Linked DNA regions of Homo sapiens: all the other regions are linked to region 3. Evidence: promoter capture Hi-C in 16 types of primary human blood cells and fetal thymus (Javierre and others, 2016). All regions are on one chromosome and are shown on one strand. The core of a region is centred on a gene start or on the middle of the fragment in contact, and the rest is flanking DNA. Distances in the headings are between cores, read along the strand shown.

Region 1 (3,820 bases), core at 1,256-3,755, 2.6 Mb after region 3:
TCCAGCCTGGCAACAGAATGAGACTCTTTCTCAAAAAAAAAAAATTTTTGTTGAGTTGGATTTCTGCCACAGTTCCCTGGTTGGTGTTGAACTCCTGGGCTCAAGTGATCTTTGGGCCTCAACCTCCCAAAGTGCTGTGATTATAGGTGTAAGCCACAGTCCCTGGACTAAGGGCAAATTCTTGAATTTGGAATCAGAGTAGATTTAAGACTTTGGGGGATATTTCATTTTGTAAAAAATCTCTCTATATTTTCTAAGATTCATTTCTTTAATATGTTTAAATAGAATGTGCTTTTAAGGTTAGGTGGCATTTGGGGGTATTTTGGGACTTAATTATTTGATAAAATATTTAATTCTTAGAAAGTAAATGCTCGAGAAAACTGTGCTAAAATTTTATCATAAAATATTTTTCTGAATGGGACTGGGAATCATAATTTTAAGTTCTTATTCTGTTTCCTCTGTTTCAATGAGTCACCATCTTGTTCATATCAGTAATTTGGTACCCCATCCGTTGGAATTACCTTTATAATATGCCTTTAAAAGGTTCATATCTAGATTTTGTCACCTGCACGTATGATCACAGTGCCATTTTCATTTAGTGTATAATAATAGCCACTTTTTTTTTTCTTTGAGATGGAGTCTCGCCCTGTTGCCCAGGCTGGAGTGCAATGGTGTGATCTCAGCTCACTGCAAACTCTGCCTCCTGGGTTCACGCCATTCTCCTTCCTCAGCCTCCCTAGTAGCTGGGACTACAGGCGCCTGCCACCATGCCTGGCTAATTTTTTTGTGTTTTTAGTAGAGACGGGATTTCACTGTGTTAGCCAGGGTGGTCTCGATCTGACCTCGTGATCTGCCCGCCTCGGCCTCCCAAAGTGCTGGGATTACAGGCGTGAGCCACCATTCCCAGCCCACTTTTTTTTTTTTTTTTTTTTTTTTGAGGCAGGGTTTCGCTCTTGTCACTCAGGCTGGAGTACAATGGCACAATCTTGGCTCATTGCAGCCTTCACTACCCAGGTTCAAGCGATTCTCCTGCCTCAGCCTCCTGAGTAGCTGGGCTACAGGCACCTGCCACCACACCCGGCTAATTTTTGTATTTTTGGTAGAGACAGGGTTTCACCATGTTGTCCAGACTAGTCTTGAACTCCTGACCTCAAATGATCCACCGTCTTGGCCTCCCAAAGTGCTGGAATTACAGGTGTGAGCCACCACACCCAGCCTAGTTATTGGAAGACTTTTAAATATGTTTTAAACAACTTGGGTATGTGAGTCTACTTTATAAATAGTAAATTTTATGAAATCTAAATACAGTTCAGCTATTTCTTTTTTTTTCTTTTTAGTTTAGCTATTTCTGATGAAAATGTACAAATTGAGATGTGCTGTAAGTGTAAAGTACATACTGTATATAGAAGCTTTAGTGCAAAAGCAAGTGTAAAATACCTAATTATAATTTTTGTGTTGATCATACGTTGAAATGATATTTTAGATATATTGATTAAAGAATATTATTAAAACTAATTTCACCTTTTTAAAACTTTTTACTACAGTATCTAGTATGGTGCTGATAGAAATAAAACACAAGCTACATAGAAATTTAAAAATTTCTAGTAGCTATATTTTAAAAGTCTTAAGTTTTGCAATAAAACTTAAGGGGTAGGATGGACACGGTGACTTACGCCTGTAATCCTGGCACTTTGGGAGGCCAAGGTAGGGGGATCACCTGAAGTCAGGAGTTTGAGACCATCCTGGCCAACATGGTGAAACTCTGTCTCTACTAAAAATACAAAAATTAGCCAGGCGTGATGGTGGGTGCCTGTAATCCCAGCTACTTGGGAGGCTGAGGCAGGAGAATCACTTGAACCTGGAAGGTGGAGGTTGCAGTGAGCCGAGATCATACCATTGCACTCCAGCCTGGGCGACAAAGCGAGACTCTGTCTCAAACAACAACAACAAAAAAATATCTTAGCCCTGCCTTGCTGTACAAAGGATTTGAGATGGCATAAACTACCAGCATCTACATTAAAGAGAAAAATAATAGTAGAAATTAAGAGTTGGAAAAAGGAAGCATTTAGAGCATAAGGCCAGTGTAGTTGCTGTTGGTGCGACAGCTAAGGCAAGAAAAGAGACAGTCACCTCTCAGGTAGTTGTTATTGCCAAGATGGAAGAGCAAAACTGCAGAGAACCAGATTGCCTGGATGTGACTTCTGGCTTTGAGCAAGATCTTTAACCTTTCTGTGTCTCAGTTTCCTCATCTGTAAAATGGGGACAATCTTAATGCCTACTTTATAGTGTTATTATGAAGATTAAGTTATAAGTGTTAGACACATTTTGTATATAAAAAGCCTCATGTTATGCATTTTACCATTTCCTAAAGGACGGCAATGTTTTTTGAAGCACTGAATTCTAAGAGATTTTTTATATGGACCTTTTGTCTAGGAGTCTCTTAATAATGTAAGAGACAGTATCCTCAGCATTTTTATAACAAAAGTGGTGATAGATTTCCTGTAGTGTGTGTAACCTTTTGCGTGTGTAGGTTAAGCACAACCCAGAAATATTAATGAATTATCTAAAGATAAGTAGGTAGATTGCAGGAGTAGAAAACTGGTGGCTCGGGGCCAAATTCTTCCACAGATGTGTTCTTTTTTGTCCTGTGTGGTATTTAAAATTGTTTCTGCCAGTACATAAAAAAGAAAAAAGAATTTCCATAGAAATCTGGACTTCTAGTTTCTCTTAGAAACATAGTAAGATTTGTGGAATGGAAATCTACATTTCCATATGTCAGTAGTGTGCTGCTTTTAGGCTGGGCCTGATTCTGTTTTTCCTCAGTTCTAGCCTTGCTTGCCATACCCAATTACCTGTGTAGGATATTCTTCCCTTCCATCTGTGTAGCATAGGACTGCACTTCTTTAGCTTCTCTAAATTTTACAATGTTTTCTGTACAGTCTTATACATCTTTTTAAAAAATTAAAAAAAAATTTCCTTTAAAACACAGGATTTTTAAGTCTTAACACATCTTTGGAGAAATATATTTGTAGGTTCTTTAGAGCTCTTGTTTCTGTTGCAAATAGTATCCTTTAAAATTTTAAATAATTATGTTGTAGATCTGTAGTGATATAATTGATTTTTAATAATATTTATCTACTTTGCCACATTATTGAACTTGGTTCTAAGAGTCTCTGTGGACGTCATTGTTTCCATGTAGTCAATACTACTATTGTCTGCAAACAATGGCAGTTCTTTTTTTTCCTTTGATATCCTTATACATTTTCTTATTTTCTTATTACACTGTACAGGTAGTACATTATTGCAAATAAGTGATGATAATAGCCACTCTTGTTAAAGCCGTAAACAAATGCTCTACAGTAATATGTGGGTGACTGTCATAGGGTTTAGTAGACACGCTTTCTCACATTAAGGAATTTTTTTCTTAAAATAAAGTACTTAAGCTAGTACTATTCCTTGAAAAGCCTTAGAATTAATGACCAGACCAGAAGCAATGAGCTATCCTTAAGCCTAGACTGTGGTCTCCAGATACTATTTTCAGCCCATTGGAAAGATGGCTGATCCCAAATCCAGGGTAAGGAAATGTACAAAATAAGCTTGAATGATGTTACTATGCCAGAAAGCAAGAAAGACTGCAAAGATCATGTCAGAAGGTTTCAGTAATCACCAGAAGAGGCAGTCATACCCCCAAAAGAGATAATTTGAGTATTAATAAGAATAATAATCGGCTGGGCATGGTGGCTCACACCTGTAATCCCAGCACTTTGGGAGGCCGAGGCAGGCAGATCACGAGGTCAGGAGTTCAATACCATCCTGGCCA
Region 2 (3,685 bases), core at 739-3,238, 2.4 Mb after region 3:
AGACATTATACATATATTCCATTTCAAGGTAACGGGGGTGTAAAATATAAAACAGAAGCTTCAGATCTTATTGGATCAAAAGTGGTTCACAATGCTTTTCTCTATCACTGCCACATGCTGAGTTATTCATTCATTAGTTCAGTCATTCATCAAATACTGATTGAGCAAAGATGACAAAACAGATCTTGCCCCTACCCTCATGGAGAGTGTGATCTTATGAAGCGACAGACAGAAATTAATGATCATGCAAATATGTAGTCATAGCAACTGTGATGAAGGATAAAAAGTATAAGGTAATGGAAGTATTCAACCTAATCTTAGAGGTAAGGAAAGGCTTCCTTAAGGAAATGACTTAAAGCTGATACTCAAGGGATAAACGAGTTGATGGGGGTCTCTCTGAACCTATTCTGGTTCAATTATTTAAAAAAATAGTTAACCAGAAGGCAGTACGGAGAGGAAAAAGTGTAAAGGCTCTCTCAGTAGCAGAAGAGAATGAAAAAGGGAGAAAGTTTGGAACAGAGGAGTGAGGGAAAGTAAGGCTTAAGACGAGGCAGGAGAAAGGAGCAGGAGTCTTGGCCAAAATAAAGATTTGGGTTTTGTTCCCTAAGCCAGGAAATGACATGATTAGATTTGCTTTTAAGGATCCTTCCAAACTGCTAAAGACATGTAGATCAAGTATTCATTGGCTGGGCGCGGTAGCCCACGCCTGTAATCCCACCACTTTGGGAGGCTGAGGCGGGAAGATCCCTTGAGGCCAATAGTTCTAGACCAGCCTGGGCAACACAGTGAGATCCCATCTCTCTCCATTTATTTATTTTAAAAAGAGACTCAGGCCGAGCGCGGTGGCTCACGCCAGTAATCCCAGCACTTTGGGAGGCTCACGAGGTGAGGAGTTCGAGACCAGCCTGACCAACATGGTGAAACTGCAGTCTCTACTAAAAATACCAAAATTAGCCAGTCGTGGTGGCGCGCGCCTGTAATCTCAGCTACGCAGGAGGCCGAGGCAGGAAAATCGGTTGAACCCGGGAGGCGGAGGTTGCAGTGAGCCAAGATCGCGCCACTGCACTCCAGCCTGGGCGACAGCCCAAGACTCCGTCTCAAATAAACATATAAAAAGAAAGTCAAGGTTATTCATTGCCTCCCTTGGAGACTGTACTCCCCCCCACCATGTCAATCAACAAATATCTGAACACCTATTTTTTTTTTTTTTTTTTTTTTTTTTGAGACGGAGTCTCGCTCTGTCGCCCAGGCCGGACTGCGGACTGCAGTGGCGCAATCTCGGCTCACTGCAAGCTCCGCTTCCCGGGTTCACGCCATTCTCCTGCCTCAGCCTCCCGAGTAGCTGGGACTACAGGCGCCCGCCACCGCGCCCGGCTAATTTTTTGTATTTTTAGTAGAGACGGGGTTTCACCTTGTTAGCCAGGATGGTCTCGATCTCCTGACCTCATGATCCACCCGCCTCGGCCTCCCAAAGTGCTGGGATTACAGGCGTGAGCCACCGCGCCCGGCCTCTGAACACCTATTACATACGGGGATACAGCTAAGAACTTTTCACAGAGACCCCCGCCCCTAACAAAACTTTACCTAAAAGGGTTGGGAGCATGTCCTACTCTAGTTTCATTCCCCGTTGGATCCGGCACACAACGCTAGGCGGTCATGTGTTCACTAAGCACCCCTGTGCCAGGCTCAAAAACATGGCCCAGGCGCAGACACTCAGATCAGCACCCACCCAGACCTGCAGGCGCTGTCTGCACACGCCTGACCGAGTCCACGTGCAAATGCACACGCACGAGCATTTGCAGGAGACCCCGGAAACACGCACACGTCCCAGGGGGGCCCACACTCCCGGAGCCGCCTTCGGTCCATGCCTCGCCCGGCCTGACTCTCCGTTCTCGCCCTCCCCGGTCCCTGGTCCCCCATCCACACTGCTCACTCGCGGGACTCACTTTCAGGTGTCTCCACGCCATGCTCCTTCCGTCATTAAGCCCGCCCCTGTCTCCCTTCCATTGGAGGAGATGGTGGCGGCCCCTCTTGTCTCCGCCCCTTAGCCGCCAACCCACCAGTCGCCGGGCAGAAGGGTTGAGAGGACGCCTCCGCGCAGCGGGGAAGGCCCGGCACCACCCCCAGGTTCTGGTTGGGTGCACGTGCGCAGTAGCGGCGGCCACGCCTCTTCCGCCCGCCCTCTCCCAGCCTGCCCGCTTGATCGCCGGCTGTTGGCGGAGATGAGATGCCGCTGCACGGTGTTTGTCCGTACTACCGCAGCCTCGAATCCAAGAGTCCGCGAGCATCAAAACACTGTGTTTCACACCAGAAATATTTGTACAGTTTTTATCACTTTAAAAAATAAATTTTACTGCTGTGTTGATATAAAGATGAATATGTTAATATATAAACTTTTTCAACTTAAAAGTTGATTTTTCTTAAGGTTTTTTAAGGAAATTAAAACATTTTCTTGAGGCCGGGCATGGTGGCTCACGCCTGTAGTCCCAGCACTTTGGGAGGCTGAGGCAGGCAGATCACTTGAGGTCAGGAGTTCGAGACCTGGTCAACACCCAAAACCCCGTGTCTACTAAAAAATAAAATAAAATACAAAAATTAGCCGGGCGTAGTGGCAGGCGCCTGTAATCCCAGGTACTCGGGAGGCTGAGGCAGGAGAATCGCTTGAACCCAGAAGGTGGAGGTTGCAGTGAGCCGAGATAGCACCACTGCACTCCAGCCTGGGCGACAAAGCAAGACTCTGTCTCAAAAACAAACAAAGAAAAATAACCAAAAAAAAAAAATTTCTTGAGATCCTAAAAGTGTCAGAGGCCCTTCCCTGGCCCTGCGCCTGTTGTGCCTCCTGGAGAAAGTGGCCCTGGTTATACCTTGGCATTGTGGTGCAACAGATGTGGAGGTATTTTTTTAAATACTGTTTCTAATCAAGACCCTGAGTGTGCAGGCCCGTTGGAGTGTGGTTTACTGCGGTGATTTTTTTTTTTTTTTTTTTTTTTTTTTGACAGAGTCTTGCTCTGTTGCCCAGGCTGCAGTGCAGTGGCGCGATCTCGGCTCACTACAAGCTCCGCCTCCCGGGTTCACGCCATTCTCCTGCGTCAGCCTCCCGAGTAGCTGGGACTACAGGCGCCCGCAACCATGCCCGGCTCATTGTTTTGTATTTTAGAGACGGGGTTTCACCGTGTTAGCCAGGATGGTACTGCGGTGATTTATGACGACCTAATGTGTCACTTTGTAGTCCTCTGAAGCAATCGTGCCCTCACGAAGAATTTTGAAATGTCTTACCTAATGATGTCCTGGCCGTTGGAGAATAGCCTCTGTAGACTTAGGTGTCAACAGCATTAATCAGATACTTATTGTTTGGAGGCTCTACACCCATCCGTGTCATTTTTGTCCAGTTGCAGTGTTCCCGCCATCAGCTGAAATAGCTGGGTTATTGTCGTAGCAGAAATTAGAGCAAAAGAAAGGTGTATGAAATATCTTGAGTCAAGCCATTTTTGAGCTTCATCAGTTGTATGAAGCTATCAAATTAGAACAAATTCACAGACCCAGCTGAGACTTAGAGACAGATTCTACTGCAATAATTTACATGCTAGGTGTTTCAGTCTACATGCAATAGAAATCATTGAAAACATTTATCAAGGTAAAAGTTATGCTTATCAACCTGTCTTCCCTTTACACTTTAATGGAATAA
Region 3 (3,439 bases), core at 35-2,534:
GAGGCTTAGGAGCAATTAGAGGGAGACAAAAAGGTTCTGCTATCCACCAAACCTTCTTCGGTCTGGGCCCTCCCTTAGCAACCCTGGGGCTTTATACTCCCTCTCCACCAATCCCTGATGACCCCGGTGGTGCCTCACAATGGACAATGCCAAGTAGCGCCCGCATCATTCCAATGACCCCTCCCCCATCTCAGTCTCCCACACTCCTCGCAAGGACAGGTCCTCTCTGGAACCTTCACAAACCTGATTTCTGGTCCTCCCCAACCAGCTCCCTGTCCCTGCTTCTGGGCTCTCCTTCCTTCCTGAGCTCCCAGGGTTCCTCAAGGTCACTTTTGGCGACAAAACATAAAAAACAAATGATGGCAGGATGGCAGGAAGAACTTCATACCCAAGCAGAGTGCCAGGTTTTACAGCCTCCGCTCAGCCATTCATATCCTAAGCAACAAAACATCAGCAGGATGCGGAAGGTCCCGATAGTAAACCATCTCCATCACATCCATGTAGCCATCCGTCCATCAACCTGTATCTCAGGAACAAATGTAGATACATTCATTTTAAGCATGCATGGTACATTTACAAAAATTAACCTGACTTATTTTGTTCCAGCAAATCTCAATATATTTGAGAGCAATCAAATCACACAGCATGTTTCTGATCATATAACTGTGCTAGAAGTCAATGATTAAAAGCTAATTCAAAATTATTATTTGCTTGGAAATTCAAAGTGCCCTTATAAGACATAAACATAAGAAAGAATCCAAAATGAAACAAGATTGCCTTTCAACTCAATGATGAGATCATAACATGGCAATAAAATGTCTCCCCCTGGCCTGGGAATTCCTCTTTGTGGCACAAGGTTGTGTGATCTCAAATCACCCCTAACCCACCTAGACATTTTAACATCTGAAACCGAGTGATGATGTCCTTATCTATAATCATCTTACTGCCTGTGTGTGTGGACTTTAAATTCTGAACCCAAATGAGGGGGAGAAAACCAAGTTGACCTTCATCATTGACCTCTCAGGGACGTCCAAGGAATCTGTGCATTTCAAGAAACAAAGTTCATCAGCTTCTCTCCTAAGGTATTTGCCCACAATACCCAGAGGGCTTGGCAGCATCATGTGTGATGGGTGGGGAGCTCCAAGCAGGTGGGCAGGACCCAGGGGTCTGGTGACCAGGACAGACCCCCACTGTCCATCACCTTTCCTGGCCCTGTCCTCAGCTGAACTTCCCACAGGCCTTCTGCCCGATCACACAGAGTGTGCCCAAACTCACTCAGGCCTCTGGCAGCTGAAAACCACTGCTTTAAATCCCTTTACCATTTACTATGACATAAGGTTATTGTAAACAGGAAATATTCTATTGATGCTACAAATGGAAAGCCAATGCCTTTACCATAAATAGAAAAACAACCCTAAGAAACAAGCAAAACAAAAACAAAACAGGGGCTGGGTGTGGTGGCTCACGCCTGTAATCCCAGCACTTTGGGAGGCCGAGGTGGGTGGATCACAAGGTCAGGAGTTCCAGACCAGCCTGGCCAATATGGTGAAACCCTGTCTCTAATAAAATACAAAAATTAGCCGGGTGTGGTGGTGGGCGCCTTAGTCCCACCTACTTGGGAGGCTGAGGCAGGAGAATAGTTTGAACCCGGGAGGCAGAGTCTGCAGTGAGCCGAGATTGCACCACTGCACTCCAGCCTAGGCGACAGAGCGAGACTCAGTCTCAAAAACAGCAACAACTACAAACAAACAAAAAACAGGGTTAACAAAACTATGGAATTCAATTCTATTTATATGCTGCAGCCATGTTCCAGCCCTAGATTTGGCTGGGCATGGTGGCTCACGCCTGTAATCCCAGCACTTTGGGAGGCTGAGGCAGGCGGATCACGAGGTTAGGAGTTCGAGATCAGCCTGACCAACATGGTGAAACCCCGTCTCTACTAAAAATACAAAAATTAGCCAGGCACGGTGGCACCCGCCTGTAATCCCAGCTACTCAGGAGGCTGAGGCAGGACAATCCCTTGAACCCAGGAGGTGGAGGTTGCAGTGAGCCGAGATCGTGCCATTGCACTCCAGCCTGGGTGACAGAATGGAATGAGACTCTGTCTCAAAAAAAAAGAAGCCCTCGGATTTCGGTTGTGTTGGTTGTAAAAGGAGAGACCAAGTAAGTGGGGGTTGAAGTCAGATTAGACCAAAAGTGAATGGCAGAGAGTACTATAATGTCCATGAAGGGTTGCTAGAGTCACCGTGATCATAGCCCAAGCAGAGACAGGGAAAGGAAGATGTGAGCAGAGTTTGGGGCCTCAAACATTGGAGGTTACTCGTGCAGCCCAGGAAAGGCTCCCCAAAGCCAGGATCAACCTCCCTTGCAGGCGGTCCCTCATGGAGGCATGGCCAGGCACCTTAGATTTGAGACCAGCTGTGTTGCTGCTGACCAGCTGTGTGACCCTGGGCTGGTTTCCTTGCGTACAATGGGAGTGCCAATGGCTGCATGCATGCAAAGACCATCTGAGGATAGGAGGAAGCAATCTGTTGAGCACCCGTGTACCTGAGTGTCATCACCTCCCAAAGGCATCCTTCGTTCCAGAGCTGGCACCTTGGAAGGCCCTTGGTTACTAAATGCAGTGATGATGGTAACAGCAGTAAATCATCATTTACGGCTGATGACGGAAGGCCAGGGGGTAGGGCTCCTAGGTCCTGGATAAGAATGAGGGTCTGGGCACTTCTGGGGACAGCTGAGTGGTAGAACTCCTGGGTCTCCAGGGGGCAGGTCCATCTTCAGTGGCATTGGGCCTAGGCTGGGATGCTGAGTTATCCACTGGAGCATCAGCAGTACAGGCAGGCACAGAGGCAGTGGATCCATCGGAGGTGGCAGGTGTAGGATCATCTGGTGAGCAAGTAGAGTCACCAAGCCTGGCTTCTAGATATAAGAGAAGTTCCTGGGCCGGGTGCCACGGCTCAAGCCTGTAATCCCAGCACTTTGGGAGGCCGAGGCGGGTGGATCACGAGGTCAGGAGATCGAGACCATCCTGGCTAACACGGTGAAACCCCGTCTCTACTAAAACTACAGAAAAATTAGCCGGGCGTGGTAGCAGGCACCTGTAGTCGTAGCTACTCGGCAGGCTGAGGCAGGAGAATGGCGTGAACTCGGGAAGCGGAGCTGGCAGTGAGCCGAGATTGCGCCACTGCACTCCAGCCTGGGCGACAGAGGGAGACTCCGTTTCAAAAAAAAAAAAAAAAAAAAAAAACCAAAACAAAACCAAAAAAAGAATGTTCCAGAAAATTGCCATTTATTTATCTAATAGGTACTGTTAAGCTAGAATATTTGAATTTTGAAGAAAATAGTAGCCGAGCATGGTGGTGGGCACCCATGATTCCAGCTCCTTGGGAGGCTAAAGCAGAAGCATCACTTGACCCCAGGAATTCAAGACCAGCATGGG

The links. The method cuts DNA at HindIII sites, captures the fragments that hold promoters and counts their contacts. A CHiCAGO score of 5 or more calls a contact.
Region 1: a contact is called between a fragment that was not itself captured here and the fragment with the promoter of NPIPB15 in region 3, in 1 of 17 cell types (M0 macrophages). The highest score is 5.2, in M0 macrophages.
Region 2: the fragment with the promoter of DHODH here is called in contact with the fragment with the promoter of NPIPB15 in region 3 in 4 of 17 cell types (naive CD8 T cells, naive CD4 T cells, total CD4 T cells and 1 more); the score reaches 7.5 in naive CD8 T cells.

Annotation. Positions count from the first base shown.
Region 1 is chr16:71,782,692-71,786,511 of GRCh38, reverse strand. The region is part of intron 2 of AP1G1 (adaptor related protein complex 1 subunit gamma 1); the gene reads left to right. Among named protein-coding and RNA genes, the nearest start is that of AP1G1, 24 kb to the left of the region's middle. The HindIII fragment of the contact is 2,187 bases long and covers 1,412-3,598 here.
Region 2 is chr16:72,007,047-72,010,731 of GRCh38, reverse strand. DHODH (dihydroorotate dehydrogenase (quinone)) reads right to left here and starts at 1,988. Exons shown (of 9, transcript NM_001361.5): 1 at 1,947-1,988. The coding sequence starts at 1,967. RefSeq lists silencers at 1,994-2,193, 2,137-2,236. The HindIII fragment of the contact is 5,632 bases long and covers 61-3,685 here.
Region 3 is chr16:74,374,151-74,377,589 of GRCh38, reverse strand. It overlaps NPIPB15 (nuclear pore complex interacting protein family member B15), which reads right to left and starts at 1,284. Exons shown (of 8, transcript NM_001306094.2): 1 at 244-1,284. The HindIII fragment of the contact is 9,807 bases long and covers 1-3,439 here.